Regions from separate parts of the Homo sapiens genome. Here regions 2, 3 and 4 are each linked to region 1. Evidence: promoter capture Hi-C in 16 types of primary human blood cells and fetal thymus (Javierre and others, 2016). All regions are on one chromosome and are shown on one strand. The core of a region is centred on a gene start or on the middle of the fragment in contact, and the rest is flanking DNA. Distances in the headings are between cores, read along the strand shown.

The links. The method cuts DNA at HindIII sites, captures the fragments that hold promoters and counts their contacts. A CHiCAGO score of 5 or more calls a contact.
Region 2: a fragment that was not itself captured here is called in contact with the fragment with the promoter of DRP2 in region 1 in 1 of 17 cell types (endothelial precursors); the score reaches 6.6 in endothelial precursors.
Region 3: the fragment with the promoter of NOX1 here is called in contact with the fragment with the promoter of DRP2 in region 1 in 1 of 17 cell types (naive CD4 T cells); the score reaches 5.3 in naive CD4 T cells.
Region 4: a fragment that was not itself captured here is called in contact with the fragment with the promoter of DRP2 in region 1 in 1 of 17 cell types (naive B cells); the score reaches 6.3 in naive B cells.

What each region holds. Positions count from the first base shown.
Region 1 is chrX:101,218,203-101,221,619 of GRCh38, forward strand. It overlaps DRP2 (dystrophin related protein 2), which reads left to right and starts at 1,584. Exons shown (of 24, transcript NM_001939.3): 1 at 1,584-1,944. The HindIII fragment of the contact is 8,546 bases long and covers 1-3,417 here.
Region 2 is chrX:100,781,857-100,785,438 of GRCh38, forward strand. No RefSeq gene overlaps it. Among named protein-coding and RNA genes, the nearest start is that of CSTF2, 37 kb to the right of the region's middle. The HindIII fragment of the contact is 1,344 bases long and covers 1,304-2,647 here.
Region 3 is chrX:100,872,856-100,875,949 of GRCh38, forward strand. NOX1 (NADPH oxidase 1) reads right to left here and starts at 1,504. Exons shown (of 13, transcript NM_007052.5): 1 at 1,240-1,504. The coding sequence starts at 1,284. The HindIII fragment of the contact is 11,783 bases long and covers 1-3,094 here.
Region 4 is chrX:100,842,565-100,845,742 of GRCh38, forward strand. It overlaps NOX1 (NADPH oxidase 1), which reads right to left. Exons shown (of 13, transcript NM_007052.5): 13 at 760-1,514. The coding sequence ends at 1,388. Among named protein-coding and RNA genes, the nearest start is that of CSTF2, 24 kb to the left of the region's middle. The HindIII fragment of the contact is 6,474 bases long and covers 1-3,178 here.

The DNA.
Region 1 (3,417 bases), core at 334-2,833:
CTAAAATAATAGATTTCTAATGTTCTTGCTACAAAAAAAATGATAAGTTGGTGGGATGATGAATATGTTAATTGGCTGGGCTGAATTTTTCTGCATAGTATACATAGATCAAAACATCACGCTGGAGCCCATAAATATATACAATTATTATTTGTCAATTAAAAATAAATAATAAAAATACTTCATAAAAAAATCACATAATAATTTTAAAATGGAACTGAAAAAAAACAGTAATTCTGGGTCCTTTAGACACTTTGTAAACACTAGTCCTAGATCCTATGTAAATACTAGTCCTAGATCCTATGTAAATACTAGTCCTAGGAAGTATTTTCTTTCTTTCTTTCTTTCTTTTTTTCTTTTTTTTGAGACAGAGTCTTGCTCTGTTACCCAGGTTGGGTGCAGTGGTGCGATCTTGGCTCACTGCAACCTCCACCTCCCAGGTTCAAGTGATTCTCCTGCCTCAGCCTCCTGAGTAGATGGGATTACAGGCGCACACCACCACGCCCAGCTAATTTTTGTATTTTTTTGGTAGAGACGGGGGTTTTACCATGTTGGTCAGGCTTGTCTCGAACTCCTGACCTTGTGATCCGCCTGCCTCGGCCTCCCAAAGTGTGGGATTATATAGGCGTGAGCCACCACGCCCGACCCTAGGAAGTATTTTCTAAGTTCCAGTGCCATCAGAGCTTATAAAATTTTTAGAGGCAAATCAGTGAACTTAAGCAACCCACTCCCAACCAGTCTTTGTCTCTCTCCATATACACCCTGTTCCCAGAGATGGAGGGAGGAAAGAAGAAAGCTGCTTTTATCCTTTGCTGTGGCCTGGGACTGCTGGGGCTTTAAATCTTTGTATGTTTGTGTAGGAGGGTGAGGATGGGGACTTTCTGACTGCTATTCATCCACCTATTCATTCAATTTACTCATTCAACATATATTTATTAAGTAACCTACTGTGTGCTGGGCACTTGGTAAAGGGATATAATCTTATCTATCCTGCCAGTGGCTTCTCCCAGGTCTCTGAGGGTGTTTGGAGCTCATACCCTCTTCTCTTTAACAAGCGTGACAGTTAAAAGAGTAAGGGCTGGTATGGACAAAAGCAGGAAGGTGCCTGGGGTAGTAGTCATTGAGGTGAGTCATGGAGGAGCTGTATTTTCCTGAATTATTCAAGATCCATTTTGTTTCCCCAATTTGTTGAGGCTTTTTCTACACGTGAGATCTAAGAGGGTGTGAGGATGAGACTTAGGGGTGACTGGCAGACTGTCCTGAGCCCAAAACTGTACCTTGAGTACCAGTGATGATTCCAGACCACAGTGTTTCAACCCTCAACACAGAAGCAGAATCCTGGACTGGCTACCGAGGGGCCCCTGCCAGCTGCTGGCTCCAAAGTTGGTTTTGTCTGTGGGCTAGATCGGTGTAAGTTGGGGTCCAGGCTGCTCGCTCAGCAGCCTGATTGATCTCCAGGGCTCTTTTGTCTCCTCCTCCCCAGTGGAAGCCTCTCCCCCTCTTCCCCTCTCCCCCTCTCCCCCTCTCTCCCTCTTCCCCCTCTCCTTGTCTCCTTCTCTCCCCCTCTGCTTCTCAGGCTCTTCCGCTTTCCTCCTCTGCTTCTAATGAATTGACATCTCCAAGAGCCGCCACATCTCTGGTAGTTTTACAAAACTGTCCTTGCTCTTCCTGCGTTTGCCCAGTCAAGGGTATTTTTGCCTGAGGTCGGAATGATGCTGTTAGTCCTGGTGATATGATTGCATAGCAACACAGAGCAGCTCTGAGAGGGGAGGAGGAGGAGAAGAAGGAAGACAGGGAAGTGGGAGAGACAGAGGGAGAGTGTGCATACAGCAGCTGTCGGCATCCCTGTCTCAGGGACTTCTTTGCTGATTCACAGAGGCAGCCCAGCCCCGGCCTCCCAGCTTACAGCTGCCGCCTGCTTCTCAGACCTGACGGAATCAGAAGGTAGGCCACAGAAAAATTATTTCCAAGCCTTGGCCTTGTTCAGCTGGCTGAGGGGAAATGACTGAGGGAGGGGAAGCTCCAGAGGTACTGTGTGGCGGGCGAGGGGTGGGGGGAGAGAGGGAAAATGAGTGTGTGTGTGCGTGTGTGTGTGTGTGTGTGTGTGTGTGTACGCGTGCCTGCCTGCGGTCTGCTTGCATGTGCCTTTAGTGGAAAACTTGCATTTAAAAATGCCCACAATAAAGTAGTCACCATTTAGATTCATAAAGAAAAAAAAAAAGATGCCCAAGAATAGAAACTCAAGCCGATTTGAGCAACTAAGGTCTAAAAATGAATAAGAAGGAGGTACACAGTTTGCTTCTTTGAGAAAAGAGGGGCATTTATTTATTTTAGGTTCTCAATAGCATGCTTTTTGTCCAAGGGTATACTTCTTGGCAGGAGGGAAGCAAAGGTGTGTGGAAAGCCTTGGCTAACAAGGGAGGAGAGAGGAAACATGGGACCTTGGAGCAGGTTCCCTGAACAAATGAGTATTCTGGCCAGCAGACAGGACACAGGAGTTCTTTGCTGAAGTAAACCAGGCTCTGACCTAAGAGCCTGGAGCTGAAGGGCTCATCTCATCTCTGTATTTACTTCCTGGCTCTGTTGTTTTTCCTGTGACATTTTTCCCCCTTATCTTCTCCCCTGGTTTCCTTTCTACACCCTGTAATCAGGAGGCATCTTTCCACTCTTGAAAGCATAGCTTGGAGTGGTTTCAAATAGGGCTTGCTTCTCTTGGAGTCCAACACCCTATCACCTTCTGCTCTCACCACCTTTCCCAGCATCGGACCAAGTGCCCCAGCCTAGTAAGTGGGCCTGAGACTATATGGGTAGTTAATGTTTATCCTTCCTTTGGTAGGCAGGTCGAGCCAGGCCTCACAGGTGTTGGGTCTAAGCAGGTGGCAAGGCTGGGCTGGGGTGGGGTGGAGTGGGGTAGAGGAGAACGTCAGCAGCAGCTGCTGCCTGCTTCCGTTGAAAGCATGGTGCATGCTGTCTGGAAAAGAACATACTTTTTAAAAATGTTTTCTTTTTGATTGTCAAAAGAACAAAAGCCTTAAAAAAGCTCTATGTCTAGTTCATCTTAATTCCTGACTTTTCCAAAGAATCCTTGTTTCTAGATGAAAGGCCCTCAGGTAAATCACCTTTTAAAAGGCCTGTGGGAACCACAAGCCTCAGGTGATTTTCCTTCTAAGGTTTGCGTGGGGAGATGATCCCAGAGAATCTCAGGGCCTTCTAAGGAAACCTCCGTGAAAAGGCAGTGTTGGAAGTGGCAGTGTTGTGTCCTGTTTCTGAAAGAAGACCAAGCCCCTCTGTCTCTGGGTTGGCAGGCCTCTGTCCTGTAGTCTTGCTTTCTGTAAACCATTGCTGGGGGATGAAGGCACATGGAAAGAACTCCTCTTCCTGTGAGATTTGTACTTCTAGGCATTCAGCCTCAGCTAA
Region 2 (3,582 bases), core at 726-3,225, 440 kb before region 1:
TAGGATTACAGGCGTGAGCCCCCGCACCCGAGCCCTGATATTAATTTTTAAATTAAAAGACTTTATTTTTAAAAGCAGTTTGAGGTTTACAGAAAAACTGAGCAGAAAGTACAGTCTCTATATACCCCCTACTCCCTGCCCCCAGTTTTCCCTGTTATTAACATTTGTGTTAATGTGGCATATTTGTTACAATCAGTGAATCAATATTGATAAATTAAAGTCCATATGTTAGTGTTCACTCTGTGTGTTATACAGTTCTATGGGTTTTGCCAAATGTATTAATATGTCATGTATCCATCATTACAGTATCATCCAGCATAATTTCACTGTCCTGAAAATGCCCTGTGCTCCACTTATTCATCTTTTCCCCACTTGCTATCACCACACCAAAGCCCTCACAACCACTTATCTTTTTAATATATCCATAGTTTTGCCTTTTGCAGAACATCATATCATTAGAATCACAATAATATGTGGCTTTTCAGACTGGTTTCTTTCACTCAGCAACATGCAGTTAAGGGTCTTCCGGGTCTTTTGTGGCTTGACAGCTCATTTCTTTTTATCACTGAATAATATTGCATTGTATAGATATACCACAGTTTTTTTTAAATTTACTCATCATTAAAGGACATCTTGATTACTTCTAATTTCTGGCAATAATGAATAAAGTTGATACAAAAACTTTTGTGTAGGATTTTGTGTGGACATATGTTTTCAACTCATTGAGGTAAATGCCTAAGGCATATTTAGTTTTGTAAGAAACTGCTAAACTATCTTCCAAAGTATCTGTACCATTTTGCATTCCCACCAGCTATGAAAGAGTTTCTGTTCTACATCTTCACAAACATTGGTGTTATCAGTGTTTTGGATTTTAGCCATTCTAATTGGTGTGGAGTGGTATCTCATTGTTGTTTTAATTTTGCAATTCCCTAATGACATATATGTTGAGCATCTTTTCATATGCATATTTACCATCTGTATATCTTCTTTGGGCATATGTCCATTCAGATCTTTTGCACATCTTTTCATTGGGTTGCTCATTTTCTTATTGAGTTTTAAGAGTTCTTCATATATTTTTGATAACAGTCCTTTATCAGATATGTCTTCTGCAAATATTTTCTCCCAGTCTTTGTCGTGTCTTTTCATTTACTTAACAGTGTCTTTCATAAAACAGAAGGTTTTAACTTTGATGAAGTCTAACTTGCCAATTTTTTCTTTCATGGATTGTGCTTTGTGTGTTGTATCTAAAAACTCATTGCCAAACACAAGGTCACCTCTATGTTCTCCTATGTTATCTTCTAGAAGCTTTGTAGTTTTCTGTTTTACATTTATAGGGGCTGTGAGAAGGTGACAGAGGTTACATGAGGTAATAAGGATAGGGCCTTAGTTGAATAAGGCTAGTGCCCTTATAAGAGGAAGAGACGCCAGTTTTCTCTCTCTCTACCATACGAAGACACAGCAAGAAAGTGGCCATCTACAAGTCAAGAAGTGGGCCATCACCAGAAACCAAATTACTGGCACCTTGATCTTAAACTTCCCAGCTTCCAAAACTGTGAGAAATAAATTTCTGCTGTTTAAGCCATGCAACCTACAGTATAAGTTATAGCAGCCCAAGCAGACTAAGACAGAACCCTTAGCATATTAATCATAGTTACTTTAAATCTCTGGTCCCATAATTCCAAAATATCTGCCACATCTGAGTCTGGTTCTAGTGCTTGCTTTGTTTCTTCAAGACTGTGGTTTTTTTTCTCTTTTTAGCATATCTTATAATTTTTCTGTTCAAAGCAAGGCATGATGTACTGGGTAAAGGGAACTGAACTGAGGTAGATAGGTGTTTAGAATGAAATTTAGAGGCAACTTAAGAAAGTACTCAAAAAACAAAATTATGGGAGCATGCTAAATGGACACAGGAGCCAGCCTGAAAGAGCTTGCAATGGACAAAGTTGGAACAATTTGAGCAACAAAATAAGTTATTCTTCCTTATAGAGGAATTCTAAATAATTTATATAGATACTTGCCTTCCAGGAAGTGGCACTTAATCCCCATCAAACCCTCATAAGTGTGGGCTGGACTTGGTAACTTCCTTCCAAAAAATAGAGTATGGAAAAGGGGTGAAGTAACTTCATAGTGGAAAAACCTGGCAAACACTACCTTGGTTAGCTGAGCAAAGCCTTGATATGGTGTGATGAGAATGGAATATTACCTTTGTGATCTTTCTCTCAAACACTTATAATCCCATTCTAATCATGAGGAAAGCGTAAGACAAATCCCAATTGAGGGACATTCTACAAAATACCTGAGGAGTACTCCTCAATAGGTCATCAAAACAAGTCTTAGAAACTGTCACAGTCAAGAAGAAACTAAGGAAAAATGACAACTAAATGCAATGTGGTATCATGGACTGGCTCCTAGAACAGAAAAAGTCAGTATATAAAAACTAAGAAAATCTGAATAAAGTATGGACTTTAGTGATAATAATGTATCAATATTGGTTTATTACTTGTAGCAAATGTACCATACTAATCTAAGATGATAATAAAAACAATAACTCTGTGTAGGGCCAAAGGGAGGGAAGTGGGCTGATACGGGAACTCTCCGCACTATCTTAGCAACTTTTTGGCAAATCTAAAATTACTCCAAGATACTAAGCTTCTTTTTTAAAAAAAATCACAAAACCTGAAAAATTTTAAAGAAATAAAAATTTAAAAATTAAAAAGAGTCAAATCCCAGCTGTATTTTTATTAATTATGTAATATTGTACAAGTCACTCTCTGAGCTTTGGTGTCCCTGTTTATAAAAGTGATAGAATACATTTTTGAGTGACATCTGAAAGATAGCAGAGTAGGAAGCTCCAGGCCCTCCTTTCCCCATGTAATCTGTGAAAGGAAATTCAATTTCGGGACGCCAAACTCATTTAGCGAAAGGGAAAAGTCAAAGTGGGAACTGGGTCATGCAAACCTGCCTCCCACTTTTGGGTCCTCAATAAGATGGCTACAAGATGAAAAGCTACATGCCTCCGCCATATTTTGCCCACAAGGAAATTCCTAGTGAGTTGTTAAAATTTCACCGTAGCAATGCAAATTGATAGCTTATCTTTACAGGTGCAGTCGCCCCCGGCGCACTAGACATAAATGCACATCTGAGTGTTCCCCTGCCCCATTTTGTCCATGTTATCTTATGTAAAATGCATATTCCCCACATTTTTCCTCTGCCTCTTTTATGTCATCTTATTAATGCAGATTCCCTGAGCCAGACAAAGGCATGAATGACTATTTTTCCCTACCCTCCTCTTACATGAAAATTGTGTACTTCTCAGTATCGCACCCTTTCCCCTTTAAATTTTGAGCCCTCAAAATCATCTTCGGAGACAGGCATAGACCTGTCTCCTGAGTGCATCCTTAACTTTGGCAAATAAATCCCCTAAAATGATTGAGACTTGTCATTTTTCTCAATTGACATCTGGTAACCACGAAGGGATCCTGAGTGAAAGTGACCCAGCCTGCAGTAGCTCACCTCTCAGTGCTTGGCACCGGCTTGGTCACCTTATAGCCCAAACTGAGAGGACAATTTGCCAAAGTCGAG
Region 3 (3,094 bases), core at 254-2,753, 350 kb before region 1:
TGCCAGGTTCCCTTTCTCCTAAACTAGTGTTCTTTCCATTATAGTGCAAAAGGAACTCAATATAAGGCATTGAGCATTTAAAATATGTCATGGGATAACCTGACAAAATAAGCACTTTTGTTAAATGTAAAACAAACAACCCTCCAGGGAAACTCCACATATTTTTCCCTGGAGCACCTGGTCGGGGGGCGGGGGGGTAGACAGGAATAAAAAGAAGCATCACACCTTCTCTCTTCTGTTTTGCCTGTGGGACCCAAAAGCAAAACAGGAGAAAAGAGAAAGAGTAATGAATGAAGATCTAGGAAAGTGAGAAAGGACACAGGGAGCCCCAGGCTCAACTGTGGCTCAGAAATGGAAGAATGAGAGTGGAGAGAGGTGTTAGAGTGTTAGGAGAAAGGGATTGTGCATACAAAGGGTGATAAAGGGGTTCTGGCCTGAACGTCATTGGGGAGCTGGGTTCGAGTGATGCCAATTCAGTCAATTCATTGTGTGACATCTAGGTCTTATTTTCCTTTGTACAATCAATAAGTTGGTTTACATCTGCACTATGCAATGCCACAGCCACTACCCACATGGGGCTGCTGAGCACTTGAAATGTGGCTAGTCCTCACTGAGATGTGCTGTGGGTATATATACACATCAGATTTGAAAGACTCAGTAAAAATAAAAATATGTAAATTAGCTTCTTAATATTTTCAATATTGAATACATACTGAAAGGATTTGTTGATATGTTGGGTTAAATGAATTATATTGTTAAATATTAACTTCACCTGTTTATTTTTACCTTTTCGGTGTAGGTATTAGAAAATTTAGGAATTACATTATGTGGTTTGCTATATTTCTAGTGGTCAGTACTGGGCCAGATGATCTCTAAGATCACTTTCATCTCAAACATTCAGTGACTTTTTGAAATCTTGATGGGACCAGTATAGGAAAGATAGAGAGAAATCAGCACTCATGGTAGTAGTTAGAAGTGAGATGGAAGAGAAAGGGAGATGACAGAAAATGAAAACAGATTGAAATTCCAAATACTTGTGATTTGACAACATGAACAATTGCATGTTATTTGCCTCTGTCCTCTCATCTGACCCACAGTTGTATTTTTTAACTAACTGGTCTTGATGAGCCCAATAATCGGCATGGAATCATCTTTCTCTTTCAAATTGCTTTACAAATATTAAAAAACATGATTTCTCCTTAATCCTTCCTAATTAATAGGAAGTCAAACATCACTTACCAGAAACAAAACTGAAAACCAGTGGTTAACCACCCAGTTTCCCATTGTCAAGAGGTGGTTTGGAGCCCTTCTAGGCAACAGGGAAGATTCAGCAATCCGGATTCTGGAGAGGTCCTTCAGGAATGGAACATTTGTCCAGCGCAGGGTCTGTGAGCCTTTAAGATGTGAAAAACACACACCTACCCCAAGAGTTCCTGGGAATGAATAAGTTTATTCTGCCTTCCTTCTCTGGACAGAACTGTGCTATCAGCTTAGATAGACCAGCCCTATCTATGAGAACCACAAGGGTTTTACCTGTGGGGATTTTACTGCTTCAGGAAATAGCAACATTCTTGGATGAAAATATTCTCTCTCATCATCTTATCAACATGACCTAATGTGAAGCATTGCCTTCCTAGATAAAAGATTTGCTAAAGTTTCTCATAAAAAAGATTATTAGTCTGGGTCTGTAAACAGATTACTTCAGGAGAAGTAGGGAGGGAAGCGTGTGTGGTAAGGAAGCTGTTTCAAAGTGCACTTTTCAAACTGTTGCCACATCTGCCGGCTGCCATTTGGATTTCAGCCTGGCTAGCTCAGAAACTTTAGCATACCAGTTCCCCTGGAGGATGATCTGTGGTTGACATATATGATGATGGCTTTGGGGAGAACTTGACTGGCTGGAAGGACAAGTGAAAAGAAGGGCCAAATAGAGCAAGAGAAAATTTAACAAGTATAAAAGTGCACTTTGGTTCAAAATAAACAGAGGCAGAGCACTCAAAAGAATGGAGATGATTGTCTTCTAGTATGATAGATTTACTAGAGTTGTGTGTTCAGCTCTGGGCACTGATTTTTTTTCCCTTTTCTAAAATGGTGAAATATACACAGAAGAGTATATAAAACATACATATGTAACTTAAAGAATAATTTTAAGGAATAAGTATCTATGTGTTCACTACTCAGATTAAAGAAAATAGACTATTTTTCTCCAGTATCTTAAAGCTCTTTGTATTTCCCTCCCTGATCACATCTATCTTCTTCCCCTCCTCTACCCCACCGGATGTAATCACTATCCTGAAATTTGGGGTAATCATTCTGTTATTTTTCTTTATATTTTTACTAACTATAATTGCATCCCTAAGCAATATATTGTTTAGTTTTTCCTGTTTTTGAACTTTTTGTAAATGAAACCTGGCAGTGTGTATGTATGCTTCTGTGGTTTGCTTCTTTCAACATTGGGTTTTTGAGATTCATACATGTACATGTAATTGCGGTTCACTTACACTGCTATCTAATATGCCATTGCATGAATGAATATACATTAATGTATTCATTCATCCTACTACTGATGGATATGATGATGGAACAATGTTGATCAAATGTCACACATATGCTACAGTTTCTCTAAGGTATATACCCAGGAGTAAAATTCCAGGGTCCTGAGATTTGCACATATTCTACTTTGCTGTGTAATTCCAAACCCGTTCCGAAGTGACCACCTAAATGTATACTACAGAGAGTTATGAATGAGAGTTCTACTTCCTCTACATGCTTACCAACCCTTGGTATTTTCCAGACTTTTTTGTTTTTATAATTCAAGTAAGTGTGGAAAACTATCGTATTATGATTTTAATTTGCATTTCCCTGATTACTAATGAGTTTGAGCATCTTTTAATTCAACTGCTGGCCATTTGAGTTTTCTCTTTTTAAAAGAGCCTATTCTGAGCCTATTCTACTTTTTGGTCTATCTTTCTATTGGTTTTTCTTTTGCTTTTAGATTCTTAGGGTTCTGTTTATAATCTTATACTAATCTTTTATTGCTTATGTTTATGGCTTGTCTTTTCAGTCTCTTAATAGTGTTTTCTGATAAATGGAAGTT
Region 4 (3,178 bases), core at 389-2,888, 380 kb before region 1:
CAGCAGTGGTATCCCTCCCTATGTAAACAACCATCAGTATTGTTTTACTGTTGTAATAAATGAAACATGATTAGCCACCATGAGTTCATGACCTACCTTTATTGTGCTCAGACTAGTGACAAAAAAAAACCAAAAACAGTTTTATCCCTCAAGCCGTAGAGGTTCCTAAACTATTAGAAACAACCATTTGTTCATTCGTGGTCACTTAATGGTAGAAAAAATAGATAATATAATGCTAATTCAGTACAACCATTCTTCTAATCTATAATGAGTTGAATTGTCTGGGCACAATGAAGTGTGAGGTTTCTCTCTTAAGAGCCCTGGGCTTCTCTCCTTCTAGGGATTCACTGTGACGACTAACATCCCAGAGCCAGTGTGGTCCTTGTAGGCCGAGGTTGGGTAGATGGCAGAAATAAAAAGCATTCTGATAGAGAATGAAGGCATTTTGCTTATGTTATTAGCTGAATGATTCCTTAGCGATATAGGTAGGAGTCCACAAAAATCTATGAAAATTATAAATTGTTATTTTTTAAACTAGACATTAATAAACTCCCTTAATAGTGATAAAGAGCTCCTCTTGACTAAATAAGTCATCCTAACATGGAGTTCAAGTTTTCACAATCGCTTTTAACAGAATAATACAAGATGACAGTATAGCTGACTTGCAATTATAATACAATTTCAATTACAATGAGCATACTTTCTAGATTTTCTTTCCCAAATGGAGAGCCCAAAAAGAAGTAACAAAAGACTCATTCATCAAGTGAAGAAGAAAATCCTTTATTTTTTGATGAGCAAAAATAAGAATAAATTGCTGTTCACACTGGATAAGACCATATCAAAAGTGACAGTAAACATGTACACTGTTGGTGTTATATGGGGATGGGGTTCTCGGTAATTTTGTTTATTATTTATGTTTATTATTATGTTTTATCATTAATTATTCAATAAATTTTTATTTAAAAAGTCACCCTACTTAGAAATCTTCTGTGGGGGTGGGAGGGACAAAAGATTACAAACCAAAACTCAGGAGATGGTAACACTGGAATTGATAAAATCACCTGGGATTAGTTGTATAACTCTGAACCACCAAACCTCTGCTATCAAGCCTTGCTACAGTCATGGCTGTCCAGAAAGATTTACAGTTATTTTTCTGAGAAAGGATCCATGGGCTTTAAGAACTTCAGAACTTTAAGAACTTCAGAAGTTCTTAAGTTGCTGAAGCTCAAGTAACGAAGTTGAATGCAATCAAAAAAAGAATACCAGGGAGTCAAGGCTTGAGAGGCACATTCTTATCCTAAAGTGACTGCTCAAACCTGACGAGACCAAGTAAATTACTGAAGATACAAAGAGACAAAATGCAGATTACCGTCCTTATTCCTATAACTCAAAAATTTTCTTTGTTGAAGTAGAATTGAACCTTTCTAGGATCCAGACTGGAATATCGGTGACAGCATTTGCGCAGGCTCTTTGCCAAAGTCCGAGGGCCACATAAGAAAACTCCCACTACAGACCTGTAGGAACAGAACAATAGTAAGGGCTAGAATGCAGCAATGACAGAATGGAGAAACTGCCTCTGTTAGGCCTCTACTACTTCCAAGAACCTTGAATAAAAATTCGGTTGTTTACTCCCACGTTCTTCATGGTAGTTTTTTAACCTTTTCTGCGCACAAACCCCAAATATGCTCTCAGCCCTTAACACTCTCAGCACTCAGCCTTCCCTGTTTTGAGAACACAGATGACAGACATAAGACAGTGCAGTGGCTAAGTGCCAGACTGTGCAGCCAGTCTGTCTGGGTTGTCTGGGCTCAAATCTCAGCTCTGACATTTATCCCACCTGTGGGACTTTGGGCACATTTCTTTTTTTCTTTTTTCTTTTCTTTTTTTGAGATGGAGTCTTGCTCTGTCCCCCAGCTGGAGTGCAGTGGCACAATCTCGGTTCACTGCAACCTCCACCTCCCAGGTTCAAGCAATTTTCCTGCCTCAGCCTCCTGAGTAGCTGGGACTACAGGCACGCACCAGCATGCCCAGCTAAATTTTGTATTTTTATTAGAGATGGGGTTTCACCATGTTGGCCAGGCTGGTCTCAAACTCCTGACCTCAAGTGATCCGCCTGCCTCAGCCTCCCTAAGTGCTGGGATTACAGGCGTGAGCCACAATGTCCGACAAGGGAAAATTTCTTAACCTCTCTCTGTTTCAGCTTTCCCACCTGTAAAATGGGGATAAAAATAGTACTTACCACATAGGGTTGTTTTAAGGATTAAATAAGAACATGTAAATAAATTAGAAAAATGCCTGGCACATAGCAAGTACATATGTATTAGCTCCCATTAAACCCATCCACTGTGAGCTTATCCCTACCTCAAAATTTCTCCTAGTGGAGAGGTAGTGTTCTTTCTTGCCAAAGCTAATCTTTCCAACTATGCTCTGGGTCTCACCGTCTTCTTCCTTCTCTCATACCTTTCTCTCCCCCTCTTTTTTAAAAATATAATTATGGTATAGTTTCTATACCATAAAATTCGCCCCTTTGAAGTGTGCAATTTGTGCTTTTTAGCACAGCCACAAAGTTATGCAACCATCACCACTATCTAATTCCAGAACATTTTCATCATCCGCAAAGAAACCCCATCCACATTAGCAGTCCTCATTTCCTCCCAACTACCCTGTCCTACCCAAGACAATCACTTTACTTTCTGTCTCTGTGGGTATGCCTATCCTGAATGTTTCACATAAGTGGAATCATACAATACATGGCCTTTGGTGTCTGGTGTTTTTCAGCATGATGTTTTCAAGATTTGTCCATGTTGTAGCATGATTCAGTACTTTGTTTTTTTTTTAATAGCTAAATAATATTCCAGTATGTGAATATACTACATTTGCTTCATCCATTCATCTATTGATGGATGCTTGGCTTGTTTTCACTTCGGGGCTATTATGAGTAATGCTGCTATGTACATCATGTACAAGTTTTTGTGTAGACATATATTTTCATTTCTCTTGGGTGTATAACAAGGAGTGGGATTGCTGGGTCATATGGAAACTATGTGTTTTTTTTTTTTTTTTTTTTTTGAGACAGAGTCTTGCACTGTCACCCGGGCTGGAGTACAATGGTATGATCTGGGGTCACTGCAACCTCCACCTCCCGGGTTCAAGCGATTCTCCTGCCTCAGCCTCCCTA